Linked DNA regions of Homo sapiens: all the other regions are linked to region 1. Evidence: promoter capture Hi-C in 16 types of primary human blood cells and fetal thymus (Javierre and others, 2016). All regions are on one chromosome and are shown on one strand. The core of a region is centred on a gene start or on the middle of the fragment in contact, and the rest is flanking DNA. Distances in the headings are between cores, read along the strand shown. Region 1 holds the start of CNGB1 (cyclic nucleotide gated channel subunit beta 1). Region 2 overlaps KIFC3 (kinesin family member C3). Region 3 overlaps KATNB1 (katanin regulatory subunit B1).

Region 1 (4,179 bases), core at 1,137-3,636:
GTCCTGTGGCTTTAAGCATCATCTGCAAGCTGAGGCCTCCAAAATTTCTATCTCCTGTAGACCTCTCCCTAAGTCTCACACACACACACACACACACACACACACACACACACATTTCAACCTGGATGTCTCTCAGACTTTTTTTTTTTTTTGCTTAGGCTGGAGTGCAGTGGTGTGATCTTGGCTCACTGCAACATCCACCCACCGGGTTCAGGCAATTCTCCTGCCTCAGCCTCCAGAGCAGCTGGGATTATAGGCACCTGCCACCACACCCGACTAATTTTTGTATTTTTAGTAGAGACGGAGTTTTGCCATGTTGGCCAGGCTGGTCTTGAACTCCTGACCTCAGGTGATCCACCTGCTTTGGCCTCCCAAAGTGCTAGGATTACAGGCGTGAGCCACTGCACCCAGCCTCTCTCAGACATCTTAACAAAGTAGTGCTCATGATTTTCCCTCCAAAATTCTTCCTCCAAACTTCCAGCCTCAGGCTTCTTCTTTTCAGTACATGTGTAAACCAGCCTGGGGCGGTTTACTGGTTCACCCACTAAACCAGCTACCCAGTTTCCCAGGGTGAGCCCCTCAATGCCCGCCTTTTTCCTCCCCTTTCCCTTCTATCTGTACTCCCACCAGCATAGTCCAAGCCCCATCATCCCTCCCGTCAGGCTGCAGGCAAGGGCGAATGTCACCTGTGTTAGTCTCAGGCCCAAGCAGAGCAGAAGGGCTTGCTGCTGTTCCTTGGGGAGGAGCTCTGACCCCTGCAGCCTGGCATATTTGTAGGGAAGGGTCAGGGAGTACATTGAGCTTTACCGTTGGGGTCTGGCCTTGCTGGCAGAAAGAACTTTCTTGTGAATCACTTGCCATGTAGAGGTTGCATTATCAGAGGTCTTGAAGCCCAACACTGGAGGGGAAGCCAGGGGTCATCCAGTCACCAATCAGCTTGTCCCTCCGCAGCCTCCTGACCAGTTTCCTGTTTCCATGCTTGCCTGCTACACAGAGCCACACAGATCATGCCCAGCCCCTGTTCAAAACCATCATCTAAAACTACACTCCTTCCTGTGGCTTACAGTCTCACAACATCTGCCCCTGCCCTCTGTCAACCTCATCTCCCACCACTCTCCCCTGCACCCGTTAAGCTCCAGGCTCCCCGGTTCCCATTCTGCTCCTCAAGGCTCATTCCAGCCTCAGAACCTTTCTCGTTGCAGTGTCCTTGGCCTGGAGCACCACTCACCCAGCTTTTTTCACAGCTGAGTCTTTCTTACTTTTCATGTCTCAGTTCAAATATACATCCACCTCGTCATAGGGGCCTGCCTACCTGCCCCTACTGCCCTCCACAACATGCTTCTGCCCTGTTTGTTTCTTTTATGGCACTTAGCATAATTTGCAATATTCTTTATTTGTCAGTAATCTCCTCCATTGGAATGTAAGCTCCATGAGGACAGGGCCTATGTCTGTCTTGCTCAGTGTGCCAAGGCTGGCACACTGCCAGGCACAAAGGAAGAGCTCTAGGCCAGGTGCAGGGGCTTACATCTGTAATCCCAATACTATGAGAGGCTGAGGCAGGAGGATTGCTTGCATCCAGGAGTTTGAGAGGTTGAGGCTGCAATGAGCTGTGATTGCACCACTTCACTTAGCCTGAGTGACAGAGAGAGACTGTGGCTTAAAAAAAAAAAAAAAAAAAGGAAAGGAAAGGAAAGGAAGAACTCTAGAAATGGTGCGGATAATTAAGTCAAGTCCTGCCCTTTGCCAAATATCCCTCAGGGCCACCACACTGAGCCCCTCTTCCTTGGGCCCTGTCCCTTGCACCCTCTCCTCCTAGATCTCTGTATCCCTTCAAGTGTCCAGCCTCAGTTCACAGGGCAGGTCAGATGCCTCAGTCATCTGCCGGGTCTTGGATCCATCCTCAAGGCCCAGGCCTGGGACACAGCCTTTCTGGCAGAGCCCAAGGCAGGGCTGCTGAGACCCTGCCCAGAGAAGACTCTAAGCCAGAAAGAACCTGCCTGCGTCCTGGCCTGGGGGCTGGAGAGTTGGGGTACACCTCTTGCCACCGCTGAGTGGGAGCTGACAAGCCCCTGCTACCATGAGGAGTCTCCAGGCATCACATGGGAACTCCAAGCTGTTATTCTCCCATCAGCCACTCCGTGTCTTGGCCAAGGTGTATGGGAAGCCAGGCCCCTGGTAAGCCGGGCAGGTCCCCTGGCAACCCATGGTGCTCCAAACCTGGGCCATGCAGGAGCCCTTCCCTGGGGCCCACATCCTTGCTGGACCCTGGGAGTTGGGAGGTGCTGCTGGTTTCCTGGGCATCAACAGCCTCTTTTCTCCCCCTCCCCCATTCAGCACCTGCTAATCCTTTGCACACGGCCCAGCTACTGCCAATTAATCTTCCTTGTGTCTGAGGGGCCAGCTACGAGTGGCAGCAAGAAGGCAATTCCTGGCTGGCGGTTGGCATCTAAGCAGGTAACTCAGGGTGAGGTGGAGGCTCGGTGGGACCCCGAGGGGATCCCCATGTTCTCCCTCTAGAAAGGCATTTAGGTAGGACCAAACTGGCACGGTGGGAAACCTGTGGCTTCCCTCTATCTGGTGGAGCTTGGACTTTAGCGGGCATCAGAATTTTCAGGACAGCTTGTACAATGCAAATTCCTAGGTCCCCCAGGAGGACTTGGGGGACCTAGGAATCTATATTTTCACTAGCTCTCCAGAAGACTCTGGAAATGCTGGTGGTGCAACACCATGGCTCCCCGAGCTGCCACTCGTGGGTCCCCCTTCCCACCTGAGCCTCCCTCATCAAAGTGCAGTCAGCAGGGACACGGGTGAAAGATGGGAGGGACCTGCAAAAATTCTCATTTAGGAGGAAAAAGAAAAATGGGGGATCGGGGAGGCTTCCTTAGTCATTTCCAGAAGGTTTAGAAATGCAAGCGAGAATTGCTGCCTGCTGGGAAGGGTCTACAGGCCTGGCCCGCGGAAGAGGCCAACACTCGGCAAATGCCACGACTACCTGGGAATACATGTGGGGCAGCTGGAATCGGGCAGACCTGAGTGTAAACTCAAGTTGGCCACTGCCGGCTGTGCTGCTTCAGGCGATTCTGTTGACCTTTCTGTGCTACATAATGAAAATTCTTATTTTACTGAGTGCAGGGGCTGGGCGGGGCGTGGTGGTGAGAGCGAGGATGAGTATGATCATGGGTAGAATGCACTTAGCTCAGCCCTGGCTCTCGGGGCTGCCTGGGGCTGGCTGGGGTCAGTGAAATCTGCTATCCCAACATGTGAGCTCTGGCAGTCCCGACCTGGGAAAACATTGTGTCTGTGCCCCCACCTTCAGGGAAATGGAAGACCAGAGGGGTCATGTCTGGCCCAAGTTCATTTTTTGGGAGGCTGAGCCAGGGATCTGACACTTAGAGCTGTGTTCCCACCACAGCCTCTCGTGGGAGAGGCTGGGCTGCTGATGCCAGAGTGGGAACAGAGGTCAGGGCTGTAAGTAGAGGACAGGCAGCACAGCCGTGGGCTCTGGGGAGCTGGGCTTGGGGGCAAGGATCCTGGGCCTGGGCTGCCCTCTTCAGCTGGGGCCAGGGTCCCTGGCAGAAAGGGGCATACAGACTCTCTGCCAAAGCCCGGGTTGCCCATGGCTGGGAGAGGGGTGGGGCACACTCATGTGGGGCAAGAACACATCTAGGGCTAGGAGTTAGCACACACTGACCTGCACGCTGCGCACTGGCCAGGCCATCCTGCAGGGGTTCAGTCATAAGGGCTGGGGCTCCCCATTCCCCAAGGAGAAATCAACCAGAAACAACCTGTACTTAAGGTAGGACTGAAATAACACAGTATATCATGAAAAAAGTCTTACCTGGCATTTTATCTTTTTCTTTCTTTCTTTTTTTAAAATATAGCACTATAAGCATTTTATTTCAGTTTTGAGACAGGGTCTTACTCTGTCGACCAGGCTGGAGTGCAATGGCTGAGTGCAATCTCCACCTTTTGGGCTCCAGTGATTCTCGTGCCTCAGCCTCCCGAGTAACTGGTACTACAGGCACGTGCCACCACGCTGGGCTAATTTTTTGTATTTTTGGTAGAGACAGGGTTTCATCATGTTGCCCAGGCTGGTCTCGAACTCCTGAGCTCAAGCGATCTGCCTGCCTCAGCCTCCTGAAGTGCTGGGATTGCAGGTGTGAGCCACACCATGCCCAG
Region 2 (4,618 bases), core at 360-2,859, 200 kb after region 1:
TGTGGCACCTGCCCCTCTCTCTCCCGCACCTCGAGGTACTGAGCCTTTTCCTGGTCTGGCCAGATTGCCATGTACGAGTCAGAGCTGGAGCGGGCCCATGGGCAGATGCTGGAGGAGATGCAGTCCCTGGAAGAGGACAAGAACCGGGCCATTGAGGAGGCCTTTGCCAGAGCCCAGGTGGAGATGAAGGCTGTGCACGAGAATCTAGCAGGTGAGCTGACCAGCTGGGCCCTGTCTGCCCCACGCCGCGGCCCCTCATCCCCTCCCGCCTCACAGCCCGAGTGTCCCCATAGGCGTCCGGACCAACTTGCTGACCTTGCAGCCGGCACTGCGGACCCTCACCAACGACTACAATGGGCTCAAGCGGCAGGTGCGCGGCTTCCCACTGCTGCTGCAGGAGGCCCTCAGGAGTGTCAAGGCCGAGGTGAGCGAGGGCAGTGGGTGGGAGGGTCCAGGCTAAGGGGGTGCACTGGGAGAGGCACGACATCCACTCAGGGCGTCCCTCCAAAGCTCAGACAAAGCCGCTCAGACAGCAGCCCCTGCCCCACCCCCCATGACACTTACTGCTGCCCTTATAGGCCCTGTTTGAAACTAGACTGCTCAGGGCAGGCATTCGGCTATTTGTCTTACTATGATTCTTTAAACCAAACATGTTACAGATAACTTCATATTTCAAACATGCAGGCCAGGCGCGGTGGCTCACACCTGTAATTCCAACACTTTGGGAGGCCGAGGCAGGCGGATCACTTGAGGTCAGGAGTTTGAGACCAGCCTGGCCAACAAGGCGAAACTTCGTCTCTACTAAAATTACAAAAATTAGCTGGGCATGGGTGGCAGGTGCCTGTTAATTCCAGCTACTCGGGAGGCTGAGGCAGGAGAATCACTTGAACCCAGAAGGCGGAGGTTGCGGTGAACCAAGATCATGCCACTGCACTTCAGCCTGTGTGACAGCGAGACTTTATCTCAAAAACAAACAAAAAACATGCTACATACGTATTTTTTAAAAAAATTATTTATTAGAGACAGGGTTCATTATGTTGCCGAGGCTGGTCTTGAACTCCTGGCTTCAAGCAGTCCTCCTGCCTTGGCCTCCCGCAGTGCTGAGATTATTGGTGTGAGCCACCATGACTGGCCGATACAGTCTTACCTCTGTTAGGTTTAACTTAATTCTTTCAAGCTGTACTTGTACATATGAGAATAACCAGTGCCTCTTAAGTGCCTCCTACATGTCGAGCTGTTTATAGCCGTTAGCTCCTTGAATTTGTATGATAGCTTTGCAAAGACTAATATATTTTGGGAACAGAATATAGTTCTTCTCCTTTAAAAGACTATATCAGTAATACATGGACGTGGTGAAAAGTCAAACTCCATAGCAGGGCATCAGGTGAATAGGAAAGGCCTCTCTGCCACCCACCCAACTCTTCCAATGTGGCCTCTCAGCATTTCCCCCGACTGTTCTGAGCATGCTTAAGCCAATTGTGCGTGTGTGTGTGTGTGTGTGTGTGTGTGAGAATATATGGTAGGCCCTTCCCCCATCCACAGGTTCTGCATTCCCAGATTCAAACAACCACAGATCAAAAATAGTTGAAAAAAATTAACAGTACAACAATTAGAAATAATAGAAATAAAAAATAACATATAACAACTATTTACACAGCATTTTTTTGTTTTTGAGACAGTGTTTCACTCTTGTTGCCCAGGCTGGAGTGCAATGGCGGGATCTCAGCTTACTGCAACCCCCACCTCCCGGGTTCAAGCGACCCTCCTGCCTCAGCCTCCTGGATAGCTGGGATTACAGGCGTGTGCCACCATGCCGGGCTAGTTTTGTTTGTTTGTTTGTTTGTTTTGTATTTTTAATAGAGGCTGGGCTTCACCATGTTGGCCAGGCTGGTTTTGAACTCCTGACCTCAGGTGATCCGCCCACCTCCGCCTCCCAAAGTGCTGGCATTACCGGCATGAGCCACTGCACCCAGCCCCTACCCAGCATTTTCATTGTATTAGATATTATAAGTAACCTGGAGATGATTTAAAGTACATGGGAGGGGCTGGGCACAGTGGCTCACACCTGTAATCCCAACACTTTGGGAGGCTGAGGCAGGAGGAGCACTTGAGCCCAGGAGTTCAAGACCAGCTTCGGCAACATAGTGGGACCCCATCTCTACAAAAAAATATAAAAAAACTAGCTGAGTGTGGTTGCCTGCACCTGTAGTCCCAGCTACTCGGGAGGCTGAGGTGGGAGGATTGCTTGGGTCTGGGAGGTCAAGGCTGCAGTGAGCCAAGATAACACCACTCACAATGAGTTTCCACCACATCCATGGAGCTGTGATTGCACTTCCAGCCTGGGCAACAGAGCAAGACCCTGTCTCAAAAAAAATAAAGTATATGGGAGGATGTGTGTAGGTTATAGGCAAACACTATATCATTTTATATCAGGGGCTTGAGCATCTGTGGATTTTTGTATCCTCCACGGTTACTAAGGGAAGACTGTATACACTGTATACACTTCCCTTCTACTCCAGAAAGGGGATGTGTGATTTGTGTACAGTGTGATACTGTATGTGTGATTTTGCATCTTTTTTCTACCTGTGAAATGTAACTGGGAGATCTTTACAGATTCATGAGTTAGATGGTATTATCCCTGCTTTCCAGATGAGAAAATTGAGGCTTAAAGACATTGAGCCAGTGGTCTCAGGTCCCCAGCTACTCAGGGGCAGAGTTGGAATTTGAGTCTGGCTGAATCACATAGTCAAGCACTAGTGCTGTGGTGTGGAGGGCTGAGTCCTGGCTCTATGCTTATTAGCAGAGCAGCCTCAAGCTGTCAGCTTAGTGTCTGCGGCTCAGTTTCATCATCTGTAAAATGGGGATGGTAGCAGTACCTACCCAGAGGGGTGATTGGGACAGTCTGACATGTGACAGCGTGTGTCAGGTACTCAGCCAGGGGCAGGAGGCAGTGAGCACCCCTCAGGGGTGGGCAGTCAGGCCGGTAAGGCTGATGGAGCCGTCCCCCTGACAGTGGTGTGCACCCCCCACCAGATAGGCCAGGCCATCGAGGAGGTCAACAGCAACAACCAGGAGCTGCTGCGCAAGTACCGCCGCGAGCTGCAGCTGCGTAAGAAGTGCCACAATGAGCTCGTGCGGCTGAAAGGTGACTGCAGGAGGGCTGGGGGTGGGCGCTGGCCTCGGGGTCCTCGACCTGGCTTGGCAGTCATGCTTGGAGCTCACCCCACCATTGAGGCACTATTCTAATCCTATCTCTGTAGATAAGGAAACAGAGGCACAGAGAAGGCAGGGAACTTGCTCAAAGCCACATGGATATTAAATGGTCTGCCTTGGATTTGAACTTGAGTCTGTCCAGCTCAGAAGCCCTGGCCCCAGTGCCTGGGCAGGTGACTCCCCAGGCCCTGGGTAGCCGAGGGGTGTGGTGTTGCAGCATTGGGTTGGTGGCAGCTGGAAAGCCGCTTATTCTGACCTGGGGCCTGGTCAAGCTTGAGACTCCACCATTCACTGCATGGAGCTCTAGAGTGCCTGCTCTGTGCCAGGTGCCGTTCCAGCCCGAGGCTATGGTCGTGGCCCCACAGACTGCCTCCCGGTGCACACTTTAGTGTGAGAATCAACAATGATGATTGTCAGGGAACCCCAACCCTGCCCCCTTCCAGGGCTGAGACAGGCTTTCCTGGGTATGGGACAGGCAAGTGTGTTGAGGGGCTTCCCAGAGAAGGCAAAGTTAGAGCTGAGACCTGGACAGTGAGCTGGAACGGATGGGTGAAAAGGGAGGGCAGGTGGGCCATGCTGGCAGTGGGGGGTGTTTCCTCTTCATTCCAAGAGCACAGGGATCCCAACAAAGGCTGGAAGTAGATGGCGGCATGACCAGCTCATGCTGCCAGATACCCCTGTGGCTGCCCCACTATCTGGGCCCTCAGATACACCACCAGTCATCACCTGCTGCCTGGGCCTATATGCCCATCTGATTCCTAAGCCCTGTCCTGCCATTCAGGACAAGGCTCTTTGCTCATTGGGGCCCAAGCCCCTCATTGTCTGGATGAAGAAACTGAAGTCCAGGGAGAAAAAGAGTGTCCGTTCTGGTGTCTCACCCTGACGGGGTGCAGTGCTTGAGCCCCACAACTGACCTTTCCTCCCCATCCCCAAGGCAGAGCTCCACCCCAGTCAACTGGTCTGTTCAAGAAGAAATGTACTAAGTGAATTCATACTATAGTGTGAATGACGGATAACAGCTTTGTGGGCCCCCTTCCCCTAGGGGGCTGTGCTTAAAAGTCAGGGGACTCCTAGGTCAACTAGTCTGCCTGGGACACCAGTGGACCAGAATGGAGACTGGTCTTGACATGGCCTGGACCCATTTCCCCATCCCCAACCAATCCAGGGAACATCCGAGTGATTGCTCGTGTCCGGCCAGTCACCAAAGAGGATGGGGAAGGACCTGAGGCCACCAATGCTGTGACTTTCGATGCCGACGACGACTCCATCATCCACCTGCTGCACAAGGGCAAGCCTGTGTCCTTCGAGCTGGACAAGGTCTTCTCCCCACAGGCCTCGCAGCAGGACGTGAGTGTGGCCCCATGCGGGAAAGGGAAAGCAAGGGAGAGAGGGAAAGATGGACTCA
Region 3 (4,394 bases), core at 298-2,797, 220 kb after region 1:
GGAAGGACCCCCAGCCTCCCTTTCACCGATGGGGACGCTGGGCTGGGGGCGGGAGCCCGGCCTCACTGATGCTGTTCTTGGGCTGGAAGATCTCGTTGTAGTCCTCGGCGTTCTGGATCTCCGCGCGGGACTCGCGCTCGTCCCGGTCATCCTCGCTGCTGGGGCTGCGGCGCTCGCTCTCTGAGTTCTGCTTCACCCTGGGAGCGTGAGGCCAAGCCCAACGGAAGCAGGTGCCCTGTGAGGCCCAGGGCTGGAACTCCGAGGCTTCCCCTGTGACAGTCCCTCTCCTGGGCCCCCGAAGGCCCCCCAGGCCCTCACCTCTGAGGCTTGCTGCAGGTTGTGCTGGGCCGCTCATAGATGCGCCGGAGGGGGGCGCTGGGGTTGGGCAGTGGCTGTGCCAGGGGCCGGTGGTCCTGCACAGGGTCCCGGGCCACCGTGCCAGTCCTGGTGACACGCGTCAGATCCACCACGTAGGAGGAGACGTTGCTCTGGGAGAAGGCCACACCTATCTGCAGAAAGCGGAGAGGTGGGGCTGGGACTGCAAGCCGAGGGGGCAAAATCCCAGCCCCAGTGTGGGGGTAGGAGGAGGGGCCTGGGCTGGAGGGAGGCGGGTGGCCCTGTGGGAGTGGGGGGCGGTGGGTGCCATGGCTCTCTCACCAACTGGTCATTGCAGATGGCCAGGTCGGCCACCTTGCCCCAGTTGACGAGGACCACATCAAAGCACCGCTCAGGTTCCCAGCCGTAGACACGCAGTGAGTCCTGGCAGCCGCTGTACAGGCAGCAGCCGTCTGGGTTGAAGAGGACGCTCCTGGGCCAGGCGAGAGATGGCCGTGGGTCCTGTGGCACCCAGCCTGGTCCCCACCCCGAGGAATCCAGAGGGCCCAGGGCAGGGAGGGCGCAGCAGCGGAGATGGGAAAGGCCCACCCACAGCCACGCCCCACTGCCGGGAGGAGCGCTGGGCCGCCCACCCCACAGCCTGCGTACCTGACGGGCCCAGGCTCCCCTTCGATGCAGCTCACCACCTGGAACTTCTCCAGGTCCCAGAAGCGGATTGTCCTGCAAAGGCAGCCAAGCTGTGCTGCGAAGCCTATCCCTCATCCTGGCCTCCACATGTCCCTGGGAAGCCAGCTTTTCTCTAGAAACCTCTCCCCCAGGGCAGGGCCACCAGGAGCAACATCTGGGGCAGAGCTGGCCCTGACTTTGCAAGGGGGAGGCTCGGCCCGATGGCCCTGGCCCCAGGGTTGGCCCCAACAGCCACGAGCCTCCCTGCCCTATGGGGTCCCACTAGATGCCTTGGGTCCCAACCTGCCCATGAAGCCACAGACCTGGGACACTGGGGCCAGGGAACCAGAGCCAGGGGAGATGGACCAGGGTCCAGTCCTGGCTCGGCTGAAATCCAATTCAGTCCACACAGGATCATCAGACGTATGACACCCCAGACAGCGACAGACCGGCAGTAGAGACACGCACAGAGGACAAGGCGGTGAAGGACAGCAGTCACAAGCAACTCGCCTCGCTCCTCCTCCTCACCTGTCAGAGCTGCCGGAGGCCAGGAGGTACTCGTTGGGGTGAAACTCGACCACGTTGACAGGCCCCGTGTGACCAGGGAACTCAGACATCATCTTGCCGGCAGTGAGATCCCAGAGCTGGAGGCAGGGCAGGGAGGAGGTCAGGGTGACCAGGCATCTTGGCTGCCCACCCTCCCTCTAATCCAGGCCAAGCTCTTTATCCACAAGCTACCTTCCACTCGGGATAGGCTTGGGACATGTGAGCCCGATCAGGAGGGAGGTGAGGACTCAGCCTGCTGTGATCAGCAGACCCCAGCCCCCAGCCCCTGGGCCCAGGTCAGGCCGGGAGCTACCTTCACGGTGTGGTCATCTGCGGCCGACGCCAACCACTTCCCATCGGGGCTGAACCGGAGACACCGCACGGCCTGGCTGTGCCCCTGAGGGAGGACACGGCATGAGCTCACCCTGGGATCCTGGGCCCAACAGACCTCTCCCTGCCTCCTCACTCCTATGGGACCCCTTCCATCTAACAACACTGGTTACCCGCCTGGTTCTGCTTGGAGCAGTTTGATGAACGTGGCTCTAGGGGATTCATGCAGAGCCAGGGGATCCAGGTGGGCCGCCCATGGCGCTCCTGCTCAGCTCCAGGTCTATGTTTTATGTTATCACCCATGTGGGACAGCCGTCCCCTCCACCCCCTGCTGGGGTCTGGGCACCACACCACACTCAATGCCCGCAAGGTGCTCATGGAGTCACCGACAGAGCGCATCCTTACCCTGTATCGGAAGACACAGCCTTTCCTCCTGATGTCCCAGAGCTGTGGGGGAGAGAGAAGCAGAGGGGCAGAGTCAGGAGAGGTCAGAGCCACGACTGGAGGAAGGTGTGCAGTCGTGAGCAGACGGTGGGGCCCAGCCTTCTCTAGGTCGTTACTCCCCACGGAGACAAGGACAGAAACTGCTCACTAAAGCTGGCATTCTGAGCAGAAGCATCTGGCAGATAGATGCCTGCCACCCGCTTTCCCTAGGATGGTGTGGATGTGGCTGCAGAAAGGGAAGAGGTCCCCTCAGCAGGCATCCAGCACTGAGGGCCGGGCCGGGCTGGTCCTGCCACAGGCCCAGCAGGAGACACGGGGCACGGACCGGCCTCTCACCTTGATGTTTGTGTCCTGGGAACCAGAGGCTACAAACTCGCCGTACGGGTGGAAATCCAGGCTGCAGATGTTGGCTTTGTGTCCCATGAGTGTGCGAAGAACTAACAAGAAGGAAAGCAGAGACAGTGGCTAAGAGGCAAATGAGAAGGCTGGCAGAGGAAGGGCTGCTGTGGGCATTTGTGTGTGCGCTTTTGGATTAGCTGCACAGAAAAATAGAACAATAACACACATTTTTAAAACAGTAGGAAACAATCAAGGGTCCCACCACCCTAACAACGAATTTTCTTTTCTTCCTTTTTTTTGAAAAGGAGTCTTGCTCTGTCGCCCAGGCTGGAATGCAATGGCGTGATCTCGGCTCACTGCAACCTCTGCCTCCCGGGTTCAAGCAATTCTCCTGCCTCAGCCTCCCAGGTAGCTGGGATTACAAGCATGTGCCACCACACCCGGCTAATTTTTTTATATTTTTGGTAGAGATAGGTTTTCACCACGTTGGCTGGGCTGGCCTCCTGACCTCAAGTGATCCACCCGCCTTGGCCTCCCAAAGCGCTGGTATTACAGGTGTGAGCCACTGCGTCCTGCCAACAACTAATTTTCCCACATTTCTCTTGAGAGGTGACAGCCCTATGTTACCTCAAGTCTGCAGAAATTGTACCACACTCTCCCCACAGACTGTGCTCCAGCGGAAGCAGAACCAGGGAACCACCACACTCAGTTCAGGCCCCATGGGTGTGGAGCTTATGGTTTGCAGGGCACTGAACCCCACCCAAGACAGTGCAAGGAGAGAGACAGACCAGGAGAGGTTCAAGCTGGGAGAGAAGCTGCTTGGTTGGAAAGAGAAATCCAGGAAGGCTTTATGGAGGAGGTGGTATTTGAGTAGATGTCAGTGGGTGGAGGATGAGGGATGCTGTTAGGTAGATGGAGGTGATGGGCAAAGGCCCTAAGAAGGGCAAGTGGAGGGCATGGCTGGGGTGGCCCTGGTGCACACACCAGTCTTCTTGGGTGACCTCTGTCCAAGGGATCTTGAGGGTGGCTGTGAGGACACACTGAGGAGCAGTGAGAACTGAGAGGACACAGGGAGGACACGCGAGGACCAAAGAACTCCTGGGGTGGGGCCTGATCGCCTCCCACTGCCCTAGGAACCACATCTCCTATCCTTTCCTTGAAGGTTTTGCAGGCATCTCCATGGCCAGGAGCGGCCCAGCCTGGAGGCAAACCTTGTGTGTTTCAGGGTGTCCTCCAGTACCACTCAGATTTGTCTCATGTTTCCTGCTTTTGGAAAGATTCATAATTCACTATCTGAATGAAACTGACCATCCCAAGTGCCAGGGTCAGGAAATGTGGGAGTCCAGCCATTCTTAGTTTTGAGCCAAGGTGCAATAGGTCACCTTGTGAGGTAGTGAGCTCTCTGTCAGAGGAGGTATTCAAGATTCCATATATAACACTTTACTGCAGAGTCAAGATCCAAGCACTGGGTGAATTAAATGAACTCTACTGTATGATCTTCTCTACCCCCAAAGTCAGGATGTGGGCTCTGGCATCAGACAATACTGGGATCAGCCTTGGCTCCGCTCCTCACTGGTGGTGTGACCCTGGCCAATCACTTACTGTCTTTGGGCCTCATGTTGGGTCACAGAATGGAGTAAACATACATAAAGTGCTTAGCACGGGCTCTGCACATGGTAAGTGCTCAATAAATGCCAGTCTTAATTAGTCCCATTCACATTTCTTCCTGCACA

Evidence for each region. Contacts are between HindIII fragments. The CHiCAGO score rates a contact against its expected background, and 5 or more counts as called.
Region 2: a contact is called between a fragment that was not itself captured here and the fragment with the promoter of CNGB1 in region 1, in 1 of 17 cell types (neutrophils). The highest score is 8.7, in neutrophils.
Region 3: a contact is called between a fragment that was not itself captured here and the fragment with the promoter of CNGB1 in region 1, in 1 of 17 cell types (neutrophils). The highest score is 5.9, in neutrophils.

Annotation. Positions count from the first base shown.
Region 1 is chr16:57,969,335-57,973,513 of GRCh38, reverse strand. It overlaps CNGB1 (cyclic nucleotide gated channel subunit beta 1), which reads left to right and starts at 2,386. Exons shown (of 33, transcript NM_001297.5): 1 at 2,386-2,454. The HindIII fragment of the contact is 12,254 bases long and covers 1-4,179 here.
Region 2 is chr16:57,765,401-57,770,018 of GRCh38, reverse strand. It overlaps KIFC3 (kinesin family member C3), which reads left to right. Exons shown (of 20, transcript NM_001130100.2): 8 at 64-211; 9 at 294-424; 10 at 3,034-3,145; 11 at 4,379-4,560. Among named protein-coding and RNA genes, the nearest start is that of MIR6772, 4.6 kb to the left of the region's middle. The HindIII fragment of the contact is 3,756 bases long and covers 1-3,487 here.
Region 3 is chr16:57,749,192-57,753,585 of GRCh38, reverse strand. KATNB1 (katanin regulatory subunit B1) reads right to left here. Exons shown (of 20, transcript NM_005886.3): 5 at 2,659-2,759; 6 at 2,284-2,325; 7 at 1,862-1,945; 8 at 1,531-1,646; 9 at 985-1,056; 10 at 658-808; 11 at 319-509; 12 at 67-197. Among named protein-coding and RNA genes, the nearest start is that of KATNB1, 16 kb to the right of the region's middle. The HindIII fragment of the contact is 8,006 bases long and covers 1-4,394 here.